Linked DNA regions of Homo sapiens: regions 1 and 3 are each linked to region 2. The links are contacts of gene promoters, found by promoter capture Hi-C in blood cells and fetal thymus (Javierre and others, 2016). All regions are on one chromosome and are shown on one strand. Each heading gives the region's core, a stretch centred on a gene start or on the middle of the fragment in contact. The rest is flanking DNA. Distances are from core to core; before and after follow the strand shown. Region 1 overlaps CATSPERB (catsper channel auxiliary subunit beta). Region 2 holds the start of FBLN5 (fibulin 5). Region 3 holds the start of CATSPERB (catsper channel auxiliary subunit beta).

The links. Contacts are between HindIII fragments. The CHiCAGO score rates a contact against its expected background, and 5 or more counts as called.
Region 1: a fragment that was not itself captured here is called in contact with the fragment with the promoter of FBLN5 in region 2 in 2 of 17 cell types (M2 macrophages and naive CD4 T cells); the score reaches 5.9 in M2 macrophages.
Region 3: a fragment that was not itself captured here is called in contact with the fragment with the promoter of FBLN5 in region 2 in 1 of 17 cell types (naive CD4 T cells); the score reaches 5.6 in naive CD4 T cells.

The regions. Positions count from the first base shown.
Region 1 is chr14:91,701,154-91,703,853 of GRCh38, reverse strand. The region is part of intron 7 of CATSPERB (catsper channel auxiliary subunit beta); the gene reads left to right. Among named protein-coding and RNA genes, the nearest start is that of CATSPERB, 30 kb to the left of the region's middle. The HindIII fragment of the contact is 1,955 bases long and covers 318-2,272 here.
Region 2 is chr14:91,946,273-91,948,972 of GRCh38, reverse strand. It overlaps FBLN5 (fibulin 5), which reads left to right and starts at 1,279. Exons shown (of 11, transcript NM_006329.4): 1 at 1,279-1,760. The coding sequence starts at 1,744. The HindIII fragment of the contact is 8,571 bases long and covers 1-2,700 here.
Region 3 is chr14:91,730,619-91,733,428 of GRCh38, reverse strand. It overlaps CATSPERB (catsper channel auxiliary subunit beta), which reads left to right and starts at 1,343. Exons shown (of 27, transcript NM_024764.4): 1 at 1,343-1,499. The HindIII fragment of the contact is 1,781 bases long and covers 415-2,195 here.

The DNA of each region.
Region 1 (2,700 bases), core at 46-2,545, 250 kb after region 2:
TTGAGTTCAATAATTTGCTAGCACAACTCACAGAACTCAGGGGAACGTTTATTTAGGTTTGCCAGTTTATTATAAAGGTCAAAACAAAGGATACAGTAAACAGTTGGGCAAGGTCCAGAAGATTCCCAAGAAAAGGAGCTTCTGTCCCCGTGGAGTTGTGACACGCCACACCCCTGGTATGTAGATGTGTTTTAGCATTCCAAAACCTGCACTGTAAGGAGAAGCTTTATCACATAGGCATTGATCAATTATTTATTCAGTCTCCACACCCTCCCCACTTCCTGGGAGATGCACTGTGGGGCTGAAGGCTCTAAGCTTCTAATCGTGGCTTGCTTTTACTGGTGACCACCCCACATCTTAAAGGTATCTGGGAGTCTGTCAGGAGTTGCTTCATTAGAACAAAAGACAATCCCATCACCCAGGAAATTCCAAGGAGTTTAGGGGTTCTGTATCAGGAACTGGGGCCAAAGACCAAATGTTATAACAAAGGATGTTCCTAGCACTCCATCATGCAGGAAATTCTGGAGGTTTTAGGAGTTCTCTATCAGGAGCCAGGGACGAAAACCAAATACGTATTTCTCGTTATATCACAATATCACAATGTCATTACACATTTCAACTACTAATAGTATTATTTTAATTATTGTTCCTAGCTAATTGATGACCTCCTAGACCCCAAATTCAGTGAATATAAAGGAAAATATATTTAAAACTTAAAAAATAAGAAACAAAATTTTATTACTCGTAGATAATATGTATACCTACAAAAAAATCCAAAAAGATCTGTAGAAAAACTCAGAACAAATATGGGTATGCTAGAAGGCTGTGAGATAGAATAACAATGTATAAAAATCACTCCACCAAGGACTAATTAAAGATTATAATTTAAAAAATCCTATTAAGGTAAGAAATCCCAAAAAGTACCCAGGAATAAAAAAAGGAGTTGCAAGGCCTATTGTGTAGAAATTATAAAACTAATGAAGGTCATAAAAAAAGACCAAAATAAATAAGAGATTTCATGTTTATAAGCAGGAAGTTCTGGTATTATAAAGATTTATTTTATAAATAAATTTATTACAAATAAAATGTATTACAAATTTATCAATTCAATATGATTCCAAGAAAAATTATAACAATGTTTTTGGTTTGTGTGTGTGTGTGTGTGTGTGTGTGTGTGTTTTCTTTTTTGTGTCAGGGAGGGTGTAGAAATTGGCAAGCCAAACACAAAATTCATATGGGAGAATGATACACCATGAATAACAAACATAATTTTAGAGAAAAAAAACAAAACAAAAATTTGTCCTAGCATGACTTATTATAAAGCAATAGATTAAAACAGTATGCATCAGTATAGGGATAGACAAATAACCTTGCCCAAATCTCTTTGACTTCCTAATGGCTTATAGTCTGCTTCTGTGGAATTCCTTTAGTTTTACTAGGTTGGTGCAAAAGTAATCGCGGTTTTTGCAATTATTTTTAATGGCAAAAACCGCGATTTTTTTTGCACCAACCTAATAATTGTGTCTTTTTCCACTCTCTGCTGTCATATTCTACACTATGTCAATCCAGATAGAAACTTGGCTCCTTTTCTTATGTTGTTCTGTGAATAGGTCCTAGCCAGGACCTCCTCCTCCTCGTCTTTATCCAAACACCAATACCTACCTTACTTCTGTGAGCCATAGGAGAGCGGTCATTCTGAACTCCTCATGCTTGATTCTGCCTTACAAATGAAAGTCATGGGAGAGAAGCGCCAGTCTTAATTCCTTGGGATCACACTCATGAGGCCACCTCAACCTCTCAAGAAAACAAACAACTTCAGCAACAGGTTCTTTAGGTGAAAGCACCTTTTCCCCAACTGGTCACCACTGTGCTGAAGCAATAAAGGAAGTTCTCACAGTATCAAGCTGCAACTGCCTAAATCAGCAATTTTTTTTTTTTTTTTTGAGACAGGGTCTCTCTCTGTTGCCCAGGCTGGAATGCAGAGGCACAATCATGGCTCACTACAGCCTCAAACTCCTAGGCTCAAGCAATCCTCCTACCTTAGCCTCCCACATAGCTGGGACTACAGGTACACGCCACCACACCCAACTAGCAGTTCCTTTGCGAGGCCTTGTTTGTCCTCCTGGCCTTCATACCACATGGAGTTAATGGTGGGAACAGCTATGCAGCAGCCCCATGTACTCCAATTTGGACTTATTACCCCCTTTCCTCCTCTAGGATATTCTTAAGACATAAACCATCAGGCCTCCCATCAGTTACCAGAACATAAGCTTCCGCAGATCATTTCTGGTTATCCTATCCCACATACAGTTCTGAATGTCCTCTAATTTGATTCAAACTTTTATCCCGCTCTATCCACCCAAATCCTTTCATTAGAATTTGTGGCCTGTCATTAACAAATTCCCCCATATCACTCACTTTTTCTCTGAATGGTCCCTTAACTTTCTTTCCATAAAGAGTACTGGGTCATCCTCAGATGACATTCTTTCCCCTCAGCCCTCCCACATATCACATATTTCAAAACCCAGGGTGAGGGTTGTTGTCTTTGCTCCTTAGGATTACTGCTTAATCACTACTCCTGTCCTCTTGTTTGAAACATGGAGCTTTTTTGAACTCAGACTTTACCTCCCTCTAACTTTTCTTGGTTGCCAGCATTTGGTGACCTCCTCACCGCTCACATTCATTCATTTACAAGTTTAA
Region 2 (2,700 bases), core at 30-2,529:
TCCCAGTCACTATCTGACTTTGAATTTTATATAAATGGAGTCGTTTGATGTGGACTCTTAAGTGTCTAGGTTTTAATTGGTTGCACAATAGTCCCTTTGGAAGCCCCTTACTTTATTTAACCCTATTGGTGCCTTGCTGATCGACCTTAAAGGTGTTTATAATCTTTTGCTTTTACAAACAATGGGGGGATGAACAACCTTATAAACATAAGGTATTTAAAAAAGTGTTTTACAGGAAATTTCAAACACGTAAAAGGAAATAGATTAGACTAGTATAATGGACACAGCTTCAACAACTATCCACATTCTGTTATTCTCCTTTGGGTAGAATTCCATTTACTTACCCCCAAAAATGCCTTAGGGAAGGCTAAATATGTAGACTCCAGAGGCTCAGCTGTACCAATGAATAGCTGCGTGACTATGGGGAGGTTACCTAACCTCTCTTATCTTCACCTCTAATAACATGGAGATGATCATTCCTACTGCTTAGAGTGGTGGTGAGGACAGGGGACCTGGATCAGGGCTTTTCGGCTGCAGGTAGGAAGATGCAGGTGGAAGCAGATGGGATAGGCCACAGTCCATCCACTGGCGTTTTATAGAGTGAGTGCCTTCTGTAAGATTTCATTGACAAAAGTACTCCAATGGCTTAAAAACAAACAAACAAACAAACAAACAAACAGGAAAAAGAAACAGGTTGAAGCCTCCACTAGAATGAATGCAAAGGACTCAGCATGTCTTATGTGCTGTCTCCACCATTCTGCTTTTCCAGACTGTCCCTTCTTCAAATCACCGTTTAACTTGTTAAAATCACTTTCGAGCCAGGGGACACTTTTCCAGGAAAGCGAGAAAATGCCAGGGAGAATCGGGGAATGAGGGCGGGGAGAGAAAAGCGTCCTAAGACTTGCATTGCACAAGCTGAAGTCTGGAATTCGCACCAGCGGGATTCCATCCTCTTCCCCCCCACCCCACCCCGCTGCTCCCCACCCCTTCTTCGGGAAGATCGCGACTCTCCCGTCGCTCGCCCCAAGCCTCTGCTTCGTAGGTTCTGGTTTCCCAATCGATCGTGAGTTTCTAGTCCCTGGAGCTGCGTGGGTCGTGAGTTCAAGTCCCTTTCCTTCCGGAGGCGACAACGTTCTCGCGGGTCCCCTTGCCACGCAGCGCGGGCGTGCACGCCCCTCCCCGCCGGGCCGCGCTGCCAGCCCCGCCCCGCCCCTGGGTGGGAAGGTCAAGGGGCCCGGGCCCTCCCAGCCCCCGCACCCCTGCGCGCGCCCGCCCCTCGCCTTCTGCCCGGGCGCTCGCAGCCGAGCGCGGCCGGGGAAGGGCTCTCCTCCCAGCGCCGAGCACTGGGCCCTGGCAGACGCCCCAAGATTGTTGTGAGGAGTCTAGCCAGTTGGTGAGCGCTGTAATCTGAACCAGCTGTGTCCAGACTGAGGCCCCATTTGCATTGTTTAACATACTTAGAAAATGAAGTGTTCATTTTTAACATTCCTCCTCCAATTGGTTTAATGCTGAATTACTGAAGAGGGCTAAGCAAAACCAGGTGCTTGCGCTGAGGGCTCTGCAGTGGCTGGGAGGACCCCGGCGCTCTCCCCGTGTCCTCTCCACGACTCGCTCGGCCCCTCTGGAATAAAACACCCGCGAGCCCCGAGGGCCCAGAGGAGGCCGACGTGCCCGAGCTCCTCCGGGGGTCCCGCCCGCGAGCTTTCTTCTCGCCTTCGCATCTCCTCCTCGCGCGTCTTGGACATGCCAGGAATAAAAAGGTGGGTTCTCGGCGCTGGACTTTTCTTTCTCCAGGGTCTGGAAGCCTTGCTAAAAATCCGATGGGTGGAAAATGGTTATGGCTGCGATTCAGGCGGTGTCAGGATATTGGAAAAGGCATGAGCTAGTGATGCAATGATATTGTTAATTATAAAAAGCTGCGCCTCTGTAATTTCCATCTTGAAGCGTTCTTTTGGGAGTGGGTATTTTCTAATACAGTTTCAAAAGCCAGCATCAGAGAGGGCTGCGAAATTCTCAGCGCTTCATTCCTCTTTCTTTTCTGGAAAGGGCAGCAACTTTGTCGTTTTAAGGGATTTTTGTATGTATTTTTTAAATTTCGGGAGGCCAATTACTAGTTCACTAGCAATTACTGCGCCGCATCGGCTGATAGACAAGCAGACAGGCTAGCTGAACACCGCGGGGCTGGATTTGCTCTATGTTTGTGTGGGATTCTCACAGAAGTTTCAAGCCAATGAGAAGTGGGAACTGCAGACAGAGATACATGTAAGCAAATGTTTTGCTATTCTTTAAGGAAATTGCAATTACAGTTAAGTAATCCTTAAGTCTTGGAGAACTTTACCTAAATGACACCCACAGTCTTTATTCAGCGAGCTCTTGAAAACATACTGCTTTGAACAAATTAACCTTGTGTGCGTATGTATGTGTCTGTGGGGTGTGTGTGTGTGTGTGTGTGTGCTGAAAACTAAGCTGTAACAATGTCATCCTGGATTGGGGACCAGCACTTCTGTGACAGGCAGTCCTGGTATTTGGTTGGTCTCTCCGGCTTTCCTTGTGTTTCAGGCTGAGGCACAACACCGGCGAACCCACCTGCTTTAGAAAGTTCCCAGGACCGGTTATGAGCACCAACCTGCCTCCCCCCAGCTATTCTTATAGTTAGTTCATTTTTGGAGTTTCCAGGGTTTTTTTTTTTTAATCACAAGG
Region 3 (2,810 bases), core at 56-2,555, 220 kb after region 2:
AAGTCAAAGTCATCCTTCTTTCAATCAGCCCATTGCCTTGCCCCCTATCCTCCTGACTAGACGGAAGCCCAGTGCATAATTTGTTTTTCAGGCAGAAGAACCCCTTTCATTCCACTGTTACAGATGAATCACCTACTGTGGGAGTAGTCTTGGTACTCACATCAAAGTGTAATTCATCAGTGACTGTGATTGAAAACAGATCCTTTACTCTTTCGTAAGTTAGGAAACAAAATGTGGGGGCAAATGAGGAAAAGAAAACTAAGAGGTTGCTGGGGAGAAAGAAGGCAAATGTCACCTGCTTCATCATTCTTTTTAGAGCTCTCAATGTGTACCTTCAGTATTGCTCAGACTTTTTTTTAATGTGTAGCAGTGTTGCTATGGTAACTGAAAGCTACATCTTCTTCCATAAAAGCTTTATTGCCTTCCCTAGTGGGAAACAGGCAACAAAAAAAGAGAGCTCCAAGTTTCTGGGAACTGAGTCTTTATAAGGAAATATATTTTGTTGTGTTTTGCACACTGTTTCAGGTTCTTCTTTAGGTCAAGGTCACCAGAAAGGGTGAGAGAAATATATTTCTGATGCGGGCTCTTCCAGGAATAGATTAAACCCAGATACCAGACATATTTCAGGATATGAGGGTAAAGCAGGTTTTACATGGCCATGTGAAGGGACTTCTGAAGGACAACCTGAGTATAAAACACGTTTTATTATCATGATTATCAAAAAGTATGTGTCAGCCTCTGTGACCATTCATGACTAGTCAGGGCGCTGGGTAAGACAGAAAGGTTCAAGCTCAGCTCACTCGGTACTCAGTCAAAGGCAGCCTTAGTGAGCACATACAACCACATCAAGGACAGTCACACAACATGAATACGGAGGACAAACTGGCATGCCATTTGGTCTCACTGTTTCCATGCGTCCACAGCTCATTTCTAACTTTGTGCTTTGTGTATTTGCTTGTCTTGTTTACCTGTCAATAAGGCCTTCTCTATTTTTTTTAAGTCCCAGTCTTCCTTAAAGACCCAGTTATGAAGCTCCTCCCCTTTGAGAGATTGCCTCCTTTTAAACCTTATTATATGCAGTTAGCATGAGCTTTTAGCATTTATGTTTTTCCCCAGGCATTCAATGATCGTATGATCATTGAAGTGTTTTATAGATAATCATATGTAGGTTTCTGATCCTTCCTAGATAAATGCTATATTAAAGATGGAAGGTTTGGAGAACCTCCACCTCTCATCGGTTTTTAAAGAAAATGGCCTGTGGTGCTCTGAAAGAGGCAGTTAGTTGGAAATTCCAACTGCCTGTCCTTTAGATTTTCTAAGCATGCTTCTGTACTTGGTAGCTGCTGATTGGCTGTTACCAAAGGTGACTAGAGTGCTAAGCCAGTCAACAGGGAAAACTTGGCTCCTGACTTTGGGTCTTTCTTCTCAGTCTATATGGAAGAAAACTGAGAAAAAATATAAAAAAGAAGAACACAACTAGTTGCGCATCTCCTAAAGAGGTAATTACAGTAAAAAATATTAAAATAAGGACCCTGCTGGAGTATGAATTTATAATGTGATCACTATTCCATAATAATGGAGTAACTATAAATGAACCAACTGGGGGAGGAAATAGCTTCCTTCAATGGGGCAATTCCCAATGTTTATTTAGTGCCAGAGAAGAGAAAATGCCCAGATACATGACTTGTATCCAGTAATTATGTAAAACTTATAATAATTACAAAGGAATGATAACTGGGGGTAATTTAACTGCTAAGTAGGTCAGTAGGGGAGTGTGATGAGGAAAAAGAAGTTGCTGCAGTGTATGGAGATATGGAATTCAGAAGTAATACTTGTCAAGTGCTTATTCTGTATAGAATATGTTAGATGTTTTAAGGTATTTTTCATTTAATTCTCACAACAACACTGTGAAGTGCCTGTTATCCCCATTTTACTGAATAGAATATGAACTCCAAGAAGTTAAATAGCTTGCTAAAAATCAAATATTTCGATGGACAGACTTCGTCTTAGGCTAAAGTCTATGTTTTTACTCTAACTATGAGCTGAAAGTTGAAAGAAGATAGTATCAAATAAGGAAAAGTTGTAATATTGAAGGGAAAATAAGAAGAATGAGACTGGAACTATGCCCCAAAGAATTAAAGAAACCAGTAGGTAGCAGAAATTCTTGAGCTTGCAGGATGGCAGATAAGAAAGCTTGCAGAACAAGCTTGCTGACATTAAAACCAGAATTTCCACCACGTGCTTCATACTAACTCTCTCGAGTTTGCACAGGTGACCCATGAAGAGGCATAAAGATTCTAATAATGGTGTTGTATCATTTAATTTGAATGTTTAGCAAAGTGATATAAGATTTTTCTGGTAAAGGGACTATTTTCAGAGTTTAACTGTGATAATGTCTCCACTTAATGTTAAATTCGTTCTTACACCAAAAATATACTTGAGCATTGCACCATGCCGACAGAATTTTAATCTACCATTTGTTTCCTCTTACCTTGTGAAAACAAGTTGTTTTCTCAGATGATTTTTAAAAATGCACTAAAAACCTTCAGTTCTCCCCTGTTAATGTGATAAGAATGAATTCAAAAAAATCAAACTGTTTGAGCTTTCTATTGTCAATTAAATGTATTTAATAAGCAAGTCAGTTTTGATGAAGGAAAAACACCAGTTACATTTAATTTACTCAGCAGTTGTCAGGAACTGCACAAAGTTCTGAGATTTTATTCCACTTAGAGTTGGCAAATTAGTATGTTTCTGTTTTCTTGGATGCTGGCAAAAGACACAAGACTCCTAGGTCAGAGACGAAGGACTTT